Regions from separate parts of the Homo sapiens genome. Here region 1 is linked to region 2. Evidence: promoter capture Hi-C in 16 types of primary human blood cells and fetal thymus (Javierre and others, 2016). All regions are on one chromosome and are shown on one strand. The core of a region is centred on a gene start or on the middle of the fragment in contact, and the rest is flanking DNA. Distances in the headings are between cores, read along the strand shown.

What was found. Contacts are between HindIII fragments. The CHiCAGO score rates a contact against its expected background, and 5 or more counts as called.
Region 1: a fragment that was not itself captured here is called in contact with the fragment with the promoter of MTRF1L in region 2 in 1 of 17 cell types (neutrophils); the score reaches 5.5 in neutrophils.

Annotation. Positions count from the first base shown.
Region 1 is chr6:152,557,586-152,562,126 of GRCh38, forward strand. All of the region lies in intron 3 of SYNE1 (spectrin repeat containing nuclear envelope protein 1), which reads right to left. Among named protein-coding and RNA genes, the nearest start is that of SYNE1, 78 kb to the right of the region's middle. The HindIII fragment of the contact is 4,689 bases long and covers 1-4,494 here.
Region 2 is chr6:153,000,927-153,005,221 of GRCh38, forward strand. It overlaps MTRF1L (mitochondrial translation release factor 1 like), which reads right to left and starts at 1,783. Exons shown (of 7, transcript NM_019041.7): 1 at 1,501-1,783. The coding sequence starts at 1,759. RGS17 (regulator of G protein signaling 17) reads right to left here. Exons shown (of 5, transcript NM_012419.5): 5 at 3,533-4,295. RefSeq lists silencers at 1,531-1,590, 1,601-1,710 and enhancers at 1,940-2,940, 2,031-2,140. The HindIII fragment of the contact is 13,608 bases long and covers 1-4,295 here.

The DNA.
Region 1 (4,541 bases), core at 900-3,399, 440 kb before region 2:
ATAAGGGAAACTCCGTAAGATTACAAGCAGTTTTCTCAGTAGAGACTTGCAGGCCAGGAGAAAGTGGGATAATATAATCAAAGTGCTGGTGGGGGAAAAATACTGTCAACCAATAATACTATATCCAGAAAAGCTGTCTTTAAGAAATGAAGGAGTGATAAAGACCTTCCTAGATAAACAAAAACTGTGGATGTTAGTCCCTACTAGAACTACCTTACAAAAAATTAATGTTAGAGTTCTTTGAGTTAAAATAAAAGAAAGCTAATTAACAAAATGAAAATATATGAAAGTAAAATCTCATTGTAAAGGTAACATATAGTCAAATTCACAATATCCTAATACTGTAATGGTGCCATACAAGTCACTTTGATATAAAAGTTAAAAGACAAAAGTATTAAAGACAACTAAAGCTACAACAATTTGTTAATGGGTACACAATATAAAAAGATGTAAATTGTGACATTAATAATATAAAACATGGGGAGAGGAGAAGTTAAAGTGTAGTTTTTGTTTGCAGTCAAAGTTAAATTGTTACCAGCTTAAAGCAGACTATTATAACTATAAGAGGTTTCATGTAAGCCTCATGTTACCACAAAGAAAAAATCTGTAAGTAGATACATAAAGATAAAGGAATTAAAACATACCACCACAAAAAAAATCATCAGATCACAAGAGGATGGCAAGAGAGGAAGAACGGAATAAAGTAACTCCAAAATAGAAAACAACAGTTTGTCAGTACTGGGTCCTTGCCTACCAATAATTATCTTAAAAGTAAATAGACTAAATTCTTTAATCAAAAGACAAAGAGTGGCCAAATGGATTAAAAAGTATAAGATCAAACTATATGCTGCCTACAAGAGATTCACTTTAGCTTTAAGGAAGCACATAGTCTGAAAGTAAAGTTATGGATTAAGAAATTCCATGTAAATGGTAACCAAAGGAGAACAAGGATGGCTATCCTTATATCGCACAATGTAGATTTTAAGTCAAACACTGTCAAAAGAGACAAAGAAGATCATTATATAATGACAAAAGGATCAATTCATCAAGAGCACATAATAATGTAAGTATATATTTACCCAACATCGGAGCACCTAAATATATAAAATGAATGCTAACAGAATCGAAGGAAATAAACAGCAATATGATTAATAGTAGCAGATTTCAGTACTTCACGTTTGACAATGGATAGATCATCCTGACAGAAACTCAACAAGGAAACAATACATTTGAAGAACACTATAAACCTAAACAATGTAACAGATGTATATAGAATATTCCATCCAGCAACAGCAGAATACACATTATTTTCAAGTGCACACAGACAATTCTCCAGGATAGATAATATATTAATATATTAGACCACAAAACAAGTCTTAACATATTTAATTTTTATTTATTTATTTATTTATTTATTTATTTATTTATTTATTTATTTTTAGAGAGAGGGTCGCATCTGTTGCCTGGGCTAGAGTGCAGTGGCACTCACTGTTGCCTGGGCTAGAGTGCAGTGGCACTCACTGTTGCCTGGGCTAGAGTGCAGTGGCACTCACTGTTGCTTGGGCTAGTGTGCAGTGGCACTCACTGTAGCCTAGAACTCCTGGGCTCAAGCAATCCTCCCACCTCAGCCTCCTGAGTAGCTGCTGGGATTACAGCTGAGTGCCACAATGCCCAGCTAATGTTTTAAAATTTTTTTGTAGAGACAGGGTCTCACTGTGTTGCCCAGGCTGGTCTAGAACTCCTTACCTCAAGCAATCCTCCCACCTCAGCCTCCTAAAATGCTGTGATTACAGGCATGAGCTATTGCTGTCTGGCCTCTTATCATATTTAAGAAAGTTGAAATCATGTCTTCTCTTTTCTGACCACAAAAAAACATAAAACAAGAGATCAGTAATATGAAGAAAATTTGAAAATTCTCAAATATGTGGAAATTAAACAATTCATTGAACAATCAATGGGCCAAAAAATAAAAGGGAAACCAAAAAATATCTTGAGATGAATGAAAATGGAAATACTACCTACAAAAACTTAGGAGATGCAACAAAATAAGTTCTAAGAGGATGGTTTATAGTAATAAATGCCTACATTTTTAAAAAAAGAAAGATTTTAAGCAACCTAATTTTATACCTCAAGGAGCTAGCAAAAAGAGAAAGACTAAGCCCAAACTTAGGAGAAGGAAGGAAATAACAAAGATCAGGGCAGAAATAAATGGAATCAAGACTAGAAAACAAGAGAAAACAATCAATGAAACTAAGAGTTGGTTTTTGAAAAGATAAACACAATTACAAACTTTTAGCTAGACTAAAGAAAAGAGAGGAGATTCAAATAAATAAAATAAGAGATATTACAACTGATACTACAGAAATATAAGGGATCATAAGAGAATATATGAACAATTGTATATCAACAAATTGGATAATCTAGAAGAAATGGATAAATTCCAGACACGTACAATCTACCAAAACTGAATCAAGAAGAAATAGAAGGCTGGGCATGGTGGCTCACACCCGAAATCCCAGCACTGTGGGAGGCCGAGGTGGGCAGATCACTTGAGGTCAGGAGTTCAAGACCAGCCTGAACAACATGGTGAAACCCCATCTCTATCAAAAATACAAAAAATAAATAAATAAATTAGCTGGGTGTGGTGGCATGCACCTATAGTCCCAGCTACTCGGGAGGCTGAGGTGGGAGAATCGCTTAAACCTGGGAGGCAGAAGTTGCAGTGAGCTGAGATGGTGCCATTGCACTCCCGCCTGTGTGACAGAGCGAGACTCCATCTCAAAAAGAAAAATAAAAGAAGAAGAAGAAATAGAAAATCTGAGCAGGCCAATAATGAGGAAGGAGATTGAAGTAGTAAGAAAAAATCTTTCAACAAAGAAAATCCCAGGACCTGATGGTTTTATGTGTGAATTCCATCAAACATTTAAAGAAAAACTAATACCAATCTTTCCCAAACTGTTTAAAAAATTAATGAGAATGAACCACTTCCACACTCATTTTATAAGGCCAGCATTACTCTCATACTAAAGCCAGATAAGAATACAAGAAAAGAAAATTACAAGCCAATATCCCTGATAAACATAGACATGAAAATTCTCAATGAAACACTAGCAAACCAAATTCAACATGACCATGGTCGATGGGATTTATACCTGAGATTCAAGAATGGTTCACTATATGCAAATTAATCAATGTGATATACCATAATAATAGAATGAAAGATAAAAGTCGTATGATCATCTCAATAGATGCATGAAAAGCATCTGACAAAACTCAACATAATTTTATGATTAAAAACTCAAAAAATTAGGTACAGGAGGAATGTATCTCAACACAATAAAGACCACATAAGAAAAGCCTACAACTAATAGTATAGTGAATGGTAAAATGTTGAACATTTTTCCTCCAAGATCAGTGAAAAGACAAGGCTGCCCACTCTCACAGAGTGCTATGTTCTATTCAACATAACACTGAAATTCCTACCCAAATCAATTAAGCAAGCAAAAGCAATAAAAGGCATCAAAATCAGAAAGGAATACATAGACTTTTGTTTGCAGATGACATTATCTCAAATAGAGTAAACCCTAGACTCCACCAAAAAAATGGTTATAACTGATAAATTTAGTTAAGTTATAAGGTACAAAATTAACAAACAAAATTCAGTTGCATGTCTATACATAAACAATGAACTATCCAAAAAGACATTTTTTTCAAAAAATAAATTTTAAAAATATTCTATTCACAATAGCATAAAAAAGAATAAAATACTTAGGAGTAAATTTAACCAAGGAGATAAAAGATCTGTATAATGAAACAATAAAGCATTGATGCAAAAAACTGACAAGGCAAATACATGGAAAGATATTTCCTTTTATGGATCACAAGAATCAATATTGTCAAAATGTTCATATTACCTTAAATGATCTACAGATTCAATGTAACTCCTATCAAAATTCCAACGGCATTTTTAATAGAAATAGAAAAAAAAGTCCTAAAAATTGTATGGAACCATCAAAGACCATGAAGCAATTTTAAGGAAAAAGAACAAAGCTGGAGGCATATTTCCTGATTTTAAATTATATTATATAGCTATAGTGATCAAAACTGCATGGTACTGGCATAAAAAAACAATACATGGATTGGAACAGAAAGCACAGAAATAAACCCATATATAATATTCAGTCAATTAATCTTTGAAAAAGGCATCAAGAATACACAATGGAGAAAGACTGTCCCTTCAGGAAATGGTGTTAGGAAAACTGGCTATCCACATGCAAATAAGTGAAACTGGATCCTTATTTTACAACATACACACAAATCAACTCAAGACAGATTAAAGATTTAAACGTAAGTCCTGAAATCATAAATGTACTAGAAGAAAACATGGGCAAAATAGCTTCTTGATATTGGACTAGACAATGATTTTCTGGATATGACCTTATAAGCACAGCCAACAAAGCAAAAAGAGGCAAATAGAATTGCACCAAACTAAAAAGCTTCTGCACAGCAAAGGGAACATCAACAGAGGGAAGAGACAACCT
Region 2 (4,295 bases), core at 533-3,032:
GCAGTGGCACCATCTTGGCTCACTGCAACCTCCACCTCCCGGGTTCAAGCGATTCTCCCACCTCAGCCTCTCAAGTAGCTGGGACCACAGGCACGCACCACCATGCCCAGCTAATTTTGCATTGTTTGTAGAGACAGGGTTTTGCCATGTTACCCAGGCTGGTCTCGAACTCCTGGGCTCAAGTGATCGGCCCACCTGAGCCTCTCAAAGTGCTGGAATTAGAGGCGTGAGCCACCACGCCTGGCCAAGGATCTCTTACTTCTTGAAATTTTCTATTGGCTTCTACAGCTTCATTTATTTATCTACTTCAGGGTCACAAAGCTCTGGCTGTTTTTTTCTTGACCTTTTATAGCCTTCTTCTCTGCCTGCTCCTCAAATACTGTGTATTTCTGGCCTTGTTAGACTTGTTTCTATCTTAACACATTTTCCCTGAGTGTTCTCATCTACTTCTAAGGTTTAATTTACCACGTACTGTATATCTCGAGAGCTCTCATATGATTATTTGGGCTCAATTTTTCTCCTATGTCAGTAATTTTTTCTCCTAGACTAGTACAGATATCTTTATTGGAATTCCTTTTCACAGGTATTTTTAACTTAATATGGCATTCAATGCAAAACTCATCTTTTTAAAAAATTCGGTCCAACTTTTATACTTTCATCTTAATTAACAGTACCACTCGTGCTGAAGCCAGAAACCTAAGACTTTTCTTAGAACTAACTCTCTCCCTCATCCTTCTCAGGGCATAAGCCACTAAATCCTAACTTGTTTCTCAAAATGTTTTGTGAGTCAGAACTATGCCTATCACCATTTCTTCTTTGGATTGTTTCAACTGCCTCCTCCCTGGCCTGTCAGCCACCAGCGTTTCTGGAGAATACTCCAATTTATCCTCAGCGCATGCCACCATTAACTTTTCTTTACAAAGACGTGAATTCTCTGCTTAAAAACATTTGCTAACTTTCCATGGTCTATAAAAAATAAATCCAAATTCTTTGTCTTGCAAGGTTCTTAACTATTTTTCTGGCTTCATGTTTCTATGACATCATCTCCCACCTATTCTATACTTAGGCCATACTGAATTTCCCAATTTAGTACCTTTACCCACGTATAGGTCTGAGATTCTGAGTCCTAAGTCTGCTATTAACAAGCACTGCCCTGATACTACTGCAAATGGGTCTCCACACCACACTTTGAGAAACACCGCTGTGGAGCCCATCACAGGGACAGTGCCTTATTTATCCTTGCTGAGCTAATGAGCTCTTGCCCGAGTCCACAACTAATAAGCATGTAAAAGGCGGCAGAGCGCCGTGGCAAAGGAGCACAAGAGAGCCCACAGGAGAGGATGGGATCACAGCACGTAATGATGTCCTGACCTCTGATCCAAAATAAAAACGGCTGCAAGTGAGTAAAGAGTTTCAAACTCGGGTAGTGTGGGCAGTGGAAAAGTCAAACGAAGAGTCAAGAATGTGCTCTGACGCCTCTCCCCCGGGCCCGACCCTTACCGTGCAGCAAGTGCTCAGTCTCCCGCAGCTCCCGCTCCTTCTCGTTCAGCAGTTTGATCACCGCCAGCAACTCGGGCCTCCTGACCTTCAAATGGGCTTCAGACCCCGCCTGGCGCTCGAGGAAGGTCCGCAAGGGCCCGCCCCGGGTGAACAGCTCCTCCAGCGGCGGGCTACCGGAGCTCAGGGGCCGGCGGGCTGGGCCAACGGCCCGGCGGGGCCAGAGCCACCGGGCAGCGCCCCACAGAACCCGGGACCGCATCCTTAGTCCGAGATCGCGGACCCTGACCGGAACCGGAAGTTCCGGACACAGCAGCCCTCGCGACAACACCCAGAATTTGGAGATAAGGGTGAGAGCGCACCAAGCCCCGCCCAGCGCAAGCGTTGCTTTTTAAAGGATTTTCCGGAAGCCTTGGCGGGAACTTCCTGCCAAGCGTGAGAACGCTGCGAACTTCCCGGAGGCCAAAAGTTGAGGGGGCTGAGCGGAGCGTGATTGGGGAGGGGCGGGCCTGGGAGACCTTGGGCGCCTCCTCTGAAAGCCTCTTGGTAGGTATCCGGTTGATGGGTGACGTGTTTGGCCGGAAAGGGAGAGCAGCAGATTGCCCCTCTGTTTTCTGATAGTGAGGATTTCTTTCCCATGCACTGAGTCGGGGCCTCCAGAGCCGCAGTGCAGGGCAGTCGAGGGTCCGCTGCAGGGCGGAGGTCACAGCCGCGCAAGTCGTCAGTCTCCGGTGCAGGGCTGCCGCTGAGTCTTCAAGAGCGAGTTTTATTATGGACAGGCGTGTGTTTATTCCTCCTCCTTTTTTCCTGCTTATGTTTCTCTTGTCCACGGTGGGTGAGGTTCGTGGTAATAAGGACTTGATAAGTGTATTATGAGATAACCACTGAATGAATTTGCACAATAGACGTGCGTGCCCTTCATCTGCCGCGTCATTTACTTGCTTTCAAAGGACTTTATTATTCACCTGCCCATTCATTTTCACTTAGTCCCACTTATCGTCAGCTTTTTAAAGAGGTGGAGTGATTCCGTGTTACAGCAACCTACAGCCCAACAAAGCCTTCAGATATCTGCCTCCAGGAGTCCAACCCTCATCCCTTTCCAAAGAACTGGTAGCGGATAGGTGCCAGCAATACCGACATTTATTGGCACAATGCTTTGCACTTTTCAAAAGACCTGTTCACAGCTCAACGGAGAAATAAATATGAGGGAATAAACACAACCAAGACAGTCCTGGGAATGCAAGGGCTAAACGCTCAATCTGAGAACTGCCACTACCTAACTGGTTTGGGCAGCGTCTACTAAGTGGTATTTCACTGTTGAGAGAGGTGATATATTAGAAGTACGAAACTTCTAATTTATTCATAAAAAATAAAATGGTAAAAAATGGGAACCCTTATCAAGGTTAAAATATCCTTAGGTCATCTAATCGAAACTGTTAAGTATAAACATTCTTAGAAAATAACGTTTGCATTGCCTCTCTCTTTTCATCTCTTAGCACGATAACAAATGCAGAGTGAGTGGAAGAATGAAATGACTCTTCAAACATCAGGAAGCAAAAATAGTTTTTTGCTACTTAAAGGCTCCACCTAATTATCTCAGTTCTTTTCACTTTGTGTATTCAAGCTACACAACTTTATACAATCGTTCTGCTGTTGAAACCCATTTTATTTTAATCCTGATCTGAGGATAGAACAGGACTGATCAGGATGTTTTTATCTCTATTAGAACAATTGTTTCCCAAGTCTGAACTTAACTTTGAATTTATCTTAACCATGGAAATGGTGAGAATCACTTGAACTCAACATGGTATATCTCTCAGTTGAGTTCTCAGAACATAAGTCATTTCAACAATATATTTTATTATTTATAAAAGGTGAAACATTTTAATAATTAAAACCTTATAGAACAATGTAAAGAATCTAGCCAGAATTTTATTTTCCCCCAAGTGCATAAGCAATTTAAGTAACACATAGAAGTGTACCTTTTATTCCTATAGTGTTATATACCAATGAGGAAACAGTAACTTTCTAAGGATACATTGTTGAATTCTTTATTAATTCAAAACATTTTAAGAAAGTCAGTGTAATGCATATGCATTTTACAATAACATCCATAGGTTTCCACAATCTAGTAAAATGAAAACAGCTGTATTTTGATTTACTTTGAAAACTCAAACCTATAGTTCGAGACTTCTGAATATTTTTACATTACTGTCATGCTCAAATTCTGTTACATGGTGAAAATTCTAGCATTTTCCAGAAGTATATTATTGTACATAGGTAAAATGATAAAATTGATTCTAGGAAGGGGGAAAAAAAAACCCAGAAAAACTTAAATTGGAGGAAACATAATCTGGATTATCTATTCAATTTGTGAATACCCACCGTTATTCTGGCATTGCAAAATAACCAAGTGTGGTGCCTCTTAAGTTGCATTCATGCATTCAAAACTTCTTTATTGTCCACTGATAAATATTGGTGGAGTACAATATATGGATATAGATTAAGTGTGATGAACATGGTAGTAAAAAATTATACACATTCGATATGTAATTTTACAAAACCAAACACATTGAATTCTTTTTAATATTTAGCAAACATTTAAAAATCATATACAAGAAAGGTGTTTATGACAAATCGGTTAAAGCTAGCGGGAAATAGGTCTTTTACATTATTTCAATATTCAGTGTTCATTGATTAGTGGAGGGCAATATAAAAATGCAATAAGCAAAATGGTTAGTTTAAATTTAAATTACCTCTTATGACAATTAGTAAGATAAGATCTTTAATATCCAAAG